Regions from separate parts of the Homo sapiens genome. Here region 2 is linked to region 1. The links are contacts of gene promoters, found by promoter capture Hi-C in blood cells and fetal thymus (Javierre and others, 2016). All regions are on one chromosome and are shown on one strand. Each heading gives the region's core, a stretch centred on a gene start or on the middle of the fragment in contact. The rest is flanking DNA. Distances are from core to core; before and after follow the strand shown.

What was found. The method cuts DNA at HindIII sites, captures the fragments that hold promoters and counts their contacts. A CHiCAGO score of 5 or more calls a contact.
Region 2: a fragment that was not itself captured here is called in contact with the fragment with the promoter of CHPT1 in region 1 in 3 of 17 cell types (naive B cells, total B cells and monocytes); the score reaches 6.5 in naive B cells.

What each region holds. Positions count from the first base shown.
Region 1 is chr12:101,695,613-101,701,263 of GRCh38, forward strand. CHPT1 (choline phosphotransferase 1) reads left to right here and starts at 2,028. Exons shown (of 9, transcript NM_020244.3): 1 at 2,028-2,522. The coding sequence starts at 2,250. It also overlaps a transcript of MYBPC1 not described here. RefSeq lists an enhancer at 1,502-1,751 and silencers at 1,972-2,311, 2,572-2,761. The HindIII fragment of the contact is 18,657 bases long and covers 1-5,651 here.
Region 2 is chr12:101,555,107-101,560,757 of GRCh38, forward strand. No RefSeq gene overlaps it. Among named protein-coding and RNA genes, the nearest start is that of MYBPC1, 37 kb to the right of the region's middle. The HindIII fragment of the contact is 6,553 bases long and covers 80-5,651 here.

The sequences.
Region 1 (5,651 bases), core at 778-3,277:
GTCCTCTTACTCCTTCCTGCTGCTTGAAACACAAATAAGATGACTGGAGCTTCACCAGCCATTCTGAATCATGAGATGGCCTTATAGATACAAGTCAGAGAGGATATTGGAGCAGAGAGACAGAAAAGCCTGAGTTCCTGATGACCATGGAAACATCGTACCAGTCTTGGAGTGCCAATTCTGTACTTCTTTTATGTGAGAGAGAAATAAATTCCTGTTGTCTAAGCTATTCAGTCTGTGGTATTTTGTTATGACAATCCAAGCTGACTAATACACCTGCTTCTTTTTTTTTTTCAGTCAACATATGCTTGTGCAATTCACTCATGTTCATAAGTGCACCCTGGAACATTACCATGTTCCAGGGCTTCTCCTATAGAAACAGAACATAGCCCAGTTGATTATTTTTTATTCTGATTGATTTTTAGGAGTTCTTTACATAATCTGGGTTCTACTCATTGTGGGTTTTGAGGGAAATACCTTTTCCCAGTTTATGGCTTGTCTTTTCATTCTCTTGATGACGTCTTTTGATGTACATTAAAAATTATCTTTAATACAGTGAAATCGGCTAATCTAGAAAAGGATTTTTTCCTTGGACTGTTCATGGCATCGGTAAATTAAAAAGTAGTTACTGTCAAGTTCACTGCACATAAACCAGCATTGTTAAAAGTGGATCTCCATCATTCCATTTCCTTTCCTGCATTTGTCAGCATCGTTTTTCACACTAAAGATGAGGAGATCCATATTCCTAAGACATATACGCTTGGTCTGTAGAGACCCTCATTGCTCTAAGGCAGTGGTTGCCAGTTTTTTCCTTAAAGGGCCTAGTAGGACATAGTCCAGGCTTTGCCAGCCATACGGTCTGTCACAACTGAATTCTGCTGCCCTTGTAGCATGAAGGCAGCCAAACAATAGGTAAGGAATAAACATGGCTTTATTCGTGGCACTGAACTTTGAATTTCATATAATTTCACAACACAAAATTGTATTCTTTTGATTTTTTCCAATCATTTAAAAATGTCAAAACCATACTTAGCTGGAGGGCTGTAGGAAAACAGGTGGTGGGCTGGGTCTGGCACACAGGCAGCAGTTCGTGGACCCCTGTGCCAAGTGTTTGACGAAGCCCGTGAGGCAAACTGCACTTGCCGATAGAGGTTGCGCCACACAAGTGTCTTGGAAGCAATTTCTGGCTTGTCCTAGGCCTTAGAAAGTGCGTGCAGATCAGAGCCATGAAGTGAAGAGCAAAGCAAGTGACAGGCCTGTCTCAGGTTGTGCAACAGAACGTGTTTATGACAGATGTCCCCTGTCCAAGTGAGTGCACTGTGAGATAAGGGGCCGGTGACCTACCAATGCGTGTGGCAAGCCAGCCTGTTCCCCCTTGCAGGGGGAGGACACTCCTGCCCTTTATTCCAGGGAAGAGTATGTGTAAAAATATTCACCCTTGTTGGTATCAAATGCGCTGAAGAAAATAGGTATCGGGGTTTCAGCCATTCGGTCTCCTTGTTAGTGTTTCTAAGCCCTGATTTTCAGTTTCAAAACCTTGGTCTCTGAATCCGCAGTGATGGGTCTCTAGAGCGAATACATGGCAGGGCCGCCTTCCTCCGTACAGAAAGGGAGAATTGTGCTTGTGTGTTTTACCAAGCAGGACAGATGGGGCCGTCACCCCCGTGACCCGAGCCCTGCAAAACTGTGTTCTCACACGAAAACCCCCAGGCTCTGCGGGCAGCGTGGTCCTGCAGTGGCTAACACTGGGCGACCGGAGTCGTGTTCCGACCCCTAGGAGAGGAACCGGCTCGGTCGTGGTGCAGCCCGCGAGGAGACGACCTCAGGGCGTAATCCGACGCCGTGGGTTAAGACATCAGACCTCAGGCGCAGTGCAGCCGGCCCCTGGGGAGTCAAGGACCTTGATCGCCGATAACAAGTTGCCGTTGGCGGGCGCCGAGGGTGACCCGCGAGCGCGGCACCCGCCTCCCCGCCCCTAGCAGGACCCCCTCCGCCCCGCCCCCAGCCGGACCCCTCCCCGAGGCCCCGCCCCACCCGCGAGCCGCAGCCGCGGCCCCACAGCTTCTGGGGCTGGGGCCCCGGCAGCCGGGCAGGCCGGCCTGACCTCGACCTCCGCCGTGCGGGCCCGACCGGTGAGTCCAGCCCGGCAGTCGCAGGACCCGGCCGCCAGCCTCTCCCTCCACCTCTCCCTGCCCCCAGCGCCAGGCGCGGGCTGCGCTCGGTGGCGGCGGCGGGGCCCTCAGGCGGCCATGGCGGCAGGCGCCGGGGCCGGGTCCGCGCCGCGCTGGCTGAGGGCGCTGAGCGAGCCGCTGAGCGCGGCGCAGCTGCGGCGACTGGAGGAGCACCGCTACAGCGCGGCGGGCGTCTCGCTGCTCGAGCCGCCGCTGCAGCTCTACTGGACCTGGCTGCTCCAGTGGATCCCGCTCTGGATGGCCCCCAACTCCATCACCCTGCTGGGGCTCGCCGTCAACGTGGTCACCACGCTCGTGCTCATCTCCTACTGTCCCACGGCCACCGAAGAGGTAGGGCTGGCCGATCGCCCGAGCCGGGCCCCAGATGCGCTGCGGGCGGGTCGCTGGAGGCGCCGGGGGAAGGGCGGACCCACGCGCGGCTGAGCCTCTCCCGGGCCCCGGAGGGGCGGACTGGCCACTGCCCCGGGCGGTGTCCGCCCTGGGCCGCCTGGAGACTGTCACGCCACTATCCCAATCCCGTGACCATCCCAAGCCTCCCCTGGGCAGCGGAGGGGCTGTTAAGGTCACTGCCCCAGGTCCTATGTCCGCGCAGATCCTCCCCACGGCCGCGGACGGGCCGGAGGGCGCCTGCCCAGCCGCTATCCCATGCGGCGCCAACCTGTGAGACGGACCCGCGGTCGGGTGCTTTGCACACTGGGGACTGAACACCCCCATCTCCGTCCTGCCTGGCACAGGGACTTGTGCCAAGCCCGAGACGCCCTTTGAATACTTTCGTAACCGTTCGTTTCTGGAAGGTTGAGCTAGTGATCTTGAAATGACCGGTAGCACTGATCAAAGATGAGTTAAGAGGTAACTTCCTCTTTGCTTCATCGACTTTTTCAAGAAAAACAAACTGGAATGTTATCAAGGCAATAATTTTTTTGTCATCACAACCTAGGGATTAAAAAAACCCCAACATTTTATTAGCAATAATTACATTTGACCTTTGTACAAAATAAGGAGTAAATATAGGCTTTGGATAGCTGTTCATCAGAAGCACCCTTTGGGCTGAGTGTGGAGGGATAGGGGGCAGAGTGGAGTTCACTCCCATCTATAGTTTATACTACGTGGGATAAATATTACATTGCACATTCTGTGACATTACTTTCTATTCTCTGCTCCAAATAGTGAAGTCCCTTTATAATCATTTGAGTGTAGGCCTTGTGGAGGACTCATGGAGGTTGAGGTTGGATTAACAGAAATACAGTGGAAATATTTCATGCCCTCCATGCATGCATCCATTTTGTTGTTGTTTTTGAGACAGGGGTTTACTCTGTCACCCAGGCTGGAGTGCCGTGCCGTGGCTCGATCTCGGCTCACTGCAACCTCCGCCTTCAGGGTTCAAGCGATTCTTCTGCCTCAGCCTTCCAAGTAGCTGGGATTACAGGCGCGTGCCACCACGGCCGACTCACTTTTGTGTTTTTAGTAGATACAAGGTTTCACCATGTTGGCCAGGCTCATGCATCCTTTAAAAACAAAAATTTGATCGAGCCTACATTTTAAAATATCTTGTCAATGGATTGGTATGCTTATTATGTATTTCTTTTCTTTTTTTTTTTTTTGAGACAGAGTCTCGCTCTGTCACCCAGGCTGGAGGGCAATGTGGTGATCTCGGCTCACTGCAACCTCTGCCTCCTGGGTTCAAGCGATTCCCTTGCCTCAGCCTCCTGAATAGCTGGGACTACACGTGCCTGCCACCACGCCCGGCTAATTTTTGTATTTTTAGTAGAGACGGGGTTTCACCATATTGGCCAGGCTGGTCTCGAACTCCTGACCTCAAGTGATCCGCCTGCCTCGGCCTCCCAAAGTGCTGGTATTTACAGGAGTGAGCCACTGCGCCAGGCTTATTATATATTTCTTAATAGACATTCCCATTGTCATTTGCCATTGCTATTCATTTACATATTACATATGAAAAAGTAAGCTGCTTTAGTTTTTGGCTGTTTTGCTGCCTGTTTCTAGAATTTACCAGAGGGAGTGTGTTAGAATGAAAGGATAGCTGGGTTGGAAGTGGAGGTCTTGGTTTCTAACTGGCTCTTCCACCACAGACCTGCTGGGTCTGTGTTCCCACAGATACAATAGAAAATAATGCCTGCCAAAACAACTTGACAAGGATGCAGTGAGGACCAAATGATATATATGCAGATAAATGTAAAAGATTGCGATGTGCCTAACAAATTAAAAATATCACTCAACACATTAAAAATATTACTGTTATCAGACAACATCCTGAAAACACATAATAAAATTTAGTTTTGATTGGGTCCAGATTTAGCTAACAGCATTTGAATGTTTCTGATATTGGCCAGTTAAGTTGTGGACTCTTCAATGTTATTATTAATTTAAGAAGCATTTGTTGAACACTTAGAAAGAGCAGGGCTTACCAAAAAAGTCAAGAGCTTCTGCCTAGGGAAGTAAAGGGAGGCCTGATGGAAGAGGTACGTTTATGATTAATTAGTTTTTAGGATCAGCCTCATGTGAAAAAAAAAAAAAAAAGGGTGGAGGGTGGGGATTGGAGGCATTTAAAAATAAAGTGCAAAATCAAATGGCCCAAGAAGGGTAAATGAGAGTTAAAAACAAGAGTTTCTGAAATGTATGTCACTAGAACCTTCATATGCTTCTGAGTGACTGATGCAGGGAGGGGAAACGCCATTACAGGATCCACATTGCTTGTTTGGTGAAAGCCCAGCAACAGTGTGAAGAGTGTAGCAGTTTCTGGCTATTTTCTCTTAAGTTCATAGAACTAGCAAATGACTGGATCAGGTAGGATTCAGATCTAAGTTGGTATGACTTCAAAAATAAAAAGATCCTATGTTTTACATAATACAAATATGTAAAGTGCTTTCACATCCATGGTTGCATTTGTGTCTTGTTATCAGCCAAAGAGGTTAGCAAGTTTTCCGCTTCCTACAATGGCCCTCCTACCACCTCAGTATTTCTTCTATCCATCTATCCTGAAGTAACAGTAGTATATGTTTTCATAAGAGGAAATTGAAGCCCAGAGATGTCAAGTGACTTTCAACTGGCTTGGGACTTGTTTTCTGATTCTCAGACTTAAGAATTCTTAGTGTTTTTTTCAGACTTGACAGATTGCTTCCAGAAAGAGTCAGCAAAAACACATAAGGTTTTTCGATTTAGATGCTTGGGCTTATCTACTCATATAGGCTTTAATACTGAGTGCATGAATAATAACATTTGATACGTTTTTAAGCATGATGCTAATTTCTAGAACATGACTGGGGATAAAGGGAAACTAATAGAAAAAAGTTGTGATTTATATTTAGCTTCTGCAAACTGCTTTTCAAGCCATCATTTCCAATAAGGAACTTTGTACTCCAGCCAAATTGAACTTCTTACTATAACAAGGATTTCTCTCCTTCTTATCCCTCTCTTTTCCCCTTCCTCTTCCTTTCTTCTGTA
Region 2 (5,651 bases), core at 2,106-4,605, 140 kb before region 1:
ACATTGAAATTACAAAATGAGTGAACACAGAGACATGTTCACCACAAAGTCAAGGAAGCCCCAACAATGTTCCAGTCTAAGCTTGACTCAGAGAGGAAAATGGTCGTGAAGATTAATTAAGCCTCTATTTATGATAACGTCTGCAGGTGCATGTCAATTCCACAGATCTCCTAGCAGCATAGCAACCCACATATCAAAAGGGAAGTTTTCTGTATCTTGTACGCAGTCTCTTCATTGAGGTAATGGGGTGCGGGGGTGAATGGGTGGATGCGGAGGGGTGTGTGTGTGTGTAGGAAGAAGTACTTACAATCTATCAAACAGGACACAGTGTCAAGACTAACATTGGGCTCTGAGATCCCCTGTGACTTAACAATTTACCTATCATTCAGGATGGATGCCTGATGAGAGGTGGGGATGGTGTAGCACTGGCATAGGGAATGTAAACACCTGAGACTTAGAAACATGTGGTTGTTCAAGAGTGGTCAGCTTACAGAAATTCATATCAAATTCCTTTTCTTTATTTTAAATGAATCAGGGTTTTGCTCTGTTGCCTAAGCTGGAGTGCAGTGGTACAATCGTAGCTCACTGCAGCCTCAAACTCCTGGGCTCAAGCAATCCTCCTGCCTCAGCTCCCAAGTAGCTGAGACTACAGATGCGCACCACCATGCCTGGCCAAGTTTTTAATTTTTTTATAGAGATAGGGTCTTGCCATGTTGCTCAGGCTGGTCTCGAATTCCTGGCCTTAAGCAGTCCTCCCATCTCAGCCTCTCAAAGCACTGGGATTACAGGTGTGAGCCACCACGCCCAGCCCATATCAGATTTCTAACAAAGAATAGGAAAAGGAGCAGATTCCGAGTTTTCCACCCCTCTGAATTCATGCTGATACTGTTTGAATGTTAGGCCTCTTTATGAATAATATTGGGTCTCTGCAGAAGCTGTTTTCCGCAACCTGCACTTGTTGATGCTCTTCAACAAATTTGGAAGGACAGGAATTGGAAATCATGTGGCTAAGATCATATGGTCAAGGACCTTGGGCATCTTCTTCATTGGTGTGGATTCAGCAGTTCACAAAGTGCCTGGCTAAAAGTAGAGGTTCAGTAATATTCCTGAGGAAGCATGAACAAGGAGATGGTGAAGTAATACAGAAAAAGGGGGGAAGCCAATACAGGGTGCGTTTCTGAGCAATTGAGACAATTTTACTGGGGGTTCTGGGAGGCCATATCACACACATCTCAAAACTATCTCTCTCCCCCAGCAGGGAGGAAGCTAGGGCATTTATACTTCATCTCCCATCCACCTGGCCTGTCCCTCAAGGGTCAAGAAATGACCATTGGGTGGAGAGTCAGTAAGATCCTGGAGGCACATACTGGCATGGTTGGTGCCAGGGGACAAGGGTAGGGCACCAACAGGGTCTGCTATAGAGGAAGAGAGAAGCAGAGCAAAGGGCAAGAACAAAGGAGAAGCTAGAGATGAGCTGAGTGTGTGTGTATGTGTGTTTGCTCATGTGTGTTCGTGTGTGTAGAGTAGTGAGATCCATTAACAAAACATTTTAAACAATAAATAGAAAATCTCCACGATTAACTCTATACAACTCTTATCTCCATCTGAAACACGCACTTTTAAATTTATAAATTTATAAAAATTGTTGTTTCTCTTACATGAATTTTCAAACAGAGCAACACATTATAAAGTGTTTATGAATAAAAATAGCTTCATAATAGAGAATGTTCTCCAAAGGGCTAACAAACATATTCAACCTCCTTGGTGATCAGGGAAGTCCCTATCAAAACAATGAGATATTGACTCTTGGGCGGGCGCGGTGGCTCACACTTCTAATCCCAGCATTTTGGGATGCCAAGGTGGGTGGATCATTTTAGGCCAGGAGTTTGAGACCAGCCTGGCCAAAATGGTGAAACCTGCATCTCTACTAAAAATTAAAAAATTAGCTGGGCAGAGTGGCATGCGCCTGTAATCCCAGCTACTCAGGATGCTGAGGCACAAAAATTACTTGAACCCAGGAGATGGAGGTTGCAGTCAGCCGAGATTGTGCCACTGCACTTCAGCCTGGGCAACAGAGCGAGACTCCATCTCAAAAAATAATAATAATAAGATACCATTTTGGGGGGAAAATATTGGGGGAAATATTTAAAATATTGGTAGCATTCAGTGCTGACAAAGATATTGTGCAATAGACATTGCGATATGTTGCTGTTAAGACTTTGAGTTACTACAAGTTTTGGGGAAGGAAACGTAGCAGTATGCACCAAAATAAAAAATATGATACCCCTTTACCCAGGAATTGTTCTTCCTGAAGTCTCTCCTAAATAAATGAAAGTACCAGAATATAAAGCTATTCATATAAGGATGTTTACTGAAGCATTATTTGGGCAAAAATTTTGGAAGCAACTCGAATGACCAATAAGATGGAAAAAATGAAAAATTTTTATATATTCACACTAATAAAAATAGTGAATTAGTGCTATATGTATTGCCTTAGTAATATTCGAGATATATTGAGGGAAATCAAAAATTTGTACTATAATGTGCATAGTTCAATCTATTCAACATTTTTTTTTCCCTCAGAGATGGGGTCTTGCTCTGTTGCCTGGGCTGGTGTGTTGTGGCATGATCAGAGCTCACTGCAGCCTTAAACTTCTGGGCTCAAGTCATCCTCCTGCCTCAGTCTCCCAAGTAGCTGAAATTATAGGTACAAGCCATGGCACCCAGCACATTCAAATATTTAAAAAGGAAAAAGGAAAAGGCTTACATATGCACAAATGTATTTGTCCAAAATAGAAAAATGTGTGGAAGGATACACATCAACTGTTACCATTAGTTACCTTGAGGTTGGAGGTATAAACTGTTGAGAAAAAGAATCCTCCGTGTTGGCGGTCCGTTGAGAAACTGGTATGTGGACAGATATTTGGGGACCTTGAAAATCAGTGGAATCATTATGGGGAGGATTAAATGAATTATACTCTCTTTGGGATATAGCCAAAGAAATAGCTACATCTCTTCTCTTTATGACTTCTTTCCTTAAAAAAAAAAATGGTATGACCATTCAGGACATAGGCATGGGCAAGGACTTCATGACTAAAACACCAAAAGCAATGGCAATAAAAGCCAAAATTGACAAATGGGATCTAATTAAACTAAAGAGCTTCTGCACAGCAAAAGAAACTACCATCAGAGTGAACAGACAACCTACAGAATGGGAGAAAATTTTTACAATCTACCCATCTGACAAAGGGCTAATATCCAGAATCTACAAAGGACTTAAACAAATTTACAAGAAAAAAACAAACAACCCCAACAAAAAGTGGGCAAAGGATATGAACAGACACTTCTCAAAAGAAGACATTTATGCAGCCAAAAGACACATGGAAAAAATGCTCATCATCACTGGTCATCAGAGAAATGCAAATCAAAACCACAATGAGATACCATCTCACACCAGTTAGAATGGCAATCATTAAAAAGTCAGGAAACAACAGGTGCTGGAGAGGGTGTGGAGAAATAGGAACACTTTTACACTGTTGGTGGGACGTAAACTAGTTCAGCCATTGTGGAAGACAGTGCGGCAATTCCTCAAGGATCTAGAACTAGAAATACCATTTGACCCAGTGATCCCATTACTGGGTATATACCCAAAGGATTATAAATCGTGCTGCTATAAAGACACATGCACATGTATGTTTACTGCAGCACTATTCACAGTAGCAAAGATTTGGAACCAACCCAAATGTCCATCAATGTATAGACTGGATTAAGAAAATGTGGCACATATACACCATGGAATACTATGCAGCCATAAAAATGGATGAGTTCATGTCCTTTTTAGGGACATGGATGAAGCTGGAAATCATCATTCTGAGCAAACTATCGCAAGGACAGAAAACCAAACATCGCATGTTCTTACTCATAGATGCGAATTGAACAATGAGAACACTTGGACTCAGGGTGGGGAACATCACACACCGGGGCCTGTCGTGGGGTGGGGGGAGCGGGGAGTGATAGCATTAGGAGATATACGTAATGTAAATGATGAGTTAATGGGTGCAGCACACCAACATGGCACATTTATACATGTGTAACAAATCTGCACGTTGTGCACATGTACCTTAGAACTTAAAGTATAATAAAAAATAAATAAATAAAAAAGGGTATGAATGTTTCTACGGCAGTGCTATAGAAAACCCACATGGCTGAAAAGCAGGCAGTAGTTAAGCAAACCACAAGGTACTAAGTCATAGAGCAATAGAATAGTAGAGGCCAGAAGTATGGTATCTGTTGGGCATGTGTTTGAGTTCTGGCTCTACTAGTTGCTGGCTGTGTGACCATAGGCACGTTGCTTATCTGTGAGCTTTGATGTCTTTATTTAGAAATGGCAATAGCAATAGTGTCTAGCTCATAGATTTGCTCTGAGGATTAAATGAGATATGCATATCATTATGATTACTACCACTTTATAACTTATGAAATGAATAAGTAAATGAATATGTGAATGGAAAACTCTGTAAGTTACTGTTACTTGAAAAGGCAGATTAGGATATGTTGCTCGATCTTAATTTTACAAAAATTACTTACACAATGATTAAAAGCAAAAGGTCTTAAAATTTTGTAAATGTCAGTAGTTGGTATTTTAACATTGAATTATTTGTCTCTTTAATTTTATTGATACTTTATTTTATTTATTTATTCTTTTAATTTAATTTTATTTTAAGTTCCAGGATACGTGTGCAGGACGTGCAGGTTTGTTACATAGGTAAACGTGTGCCATGGTGGTTTGCTGCATCTATCAACCCATCACCTAGGTATTAAGCCCTGCATGCACTGGTGATTTATTCTGATGCTCTCCCCACCTCCACTCCACCATCCCTACAGGCACTGGTGTGTGTTATTTGCCTTCCTGTGTCCATGTGTTCTCATTGTTCAGCTCCCACTTATGAGTGAGAACATGTGGTGTTTGGTTTTCTGTTCCTGTGTTAGTTTGCTGAGGACGATGGCTTCCAGCTTCATCCATGTCCCTGCAAAGGACATGATCTCATTCCTTTTCATGGCTGCATAGTATTCCATGGTGTATATGTACCATATATCCTTCCTTTTTTTTTCTTTTTTCTTTTCCTTTCCTTTCTTTTCTTTTTTTCTCCTTCCTTCCTTCCTTTCTTTCTCTCTCTCTCTTTCCTTCCTTCCTTCCTTCCTTTCTTTTTCTCTTTCTTTCTTTCTCTTTCTTTCTTTCTTTCTTTCTTTCTTTCTTTCTTTCTTTCTTTCTTTCTTTCTTTCTTTCTTTCTTTCTTTCTTTCCTTCTTGAGACGGAGTTTCGATCTTGTTGCCCAGGCTGGTGTGCAATGGCACGATCTCAGCTCACTGCAACCTCCGCTTCCCAGGTTCAAGTGATTGTCCTGCCTCAGCCTCCCAAGTAGCCGGGATTACAGGCACCTGCCACCATACCCGGCTAATTTTTTTTTTTTTTTGTATTTTTAGTAGAGATGGGGGTTTCACCATGTAGGCCAGGCTGGTCTCGATCTCCTGACCTCAGGTGATCCACCCGCCTCTGCCTCCCAAAATGTTAGGATTATAGGCGTGAACCACCGTGCCCGGCCCATTTTCTTCATCCAGTCTATAATTGATGGGCATTTGGGTTGATTCCA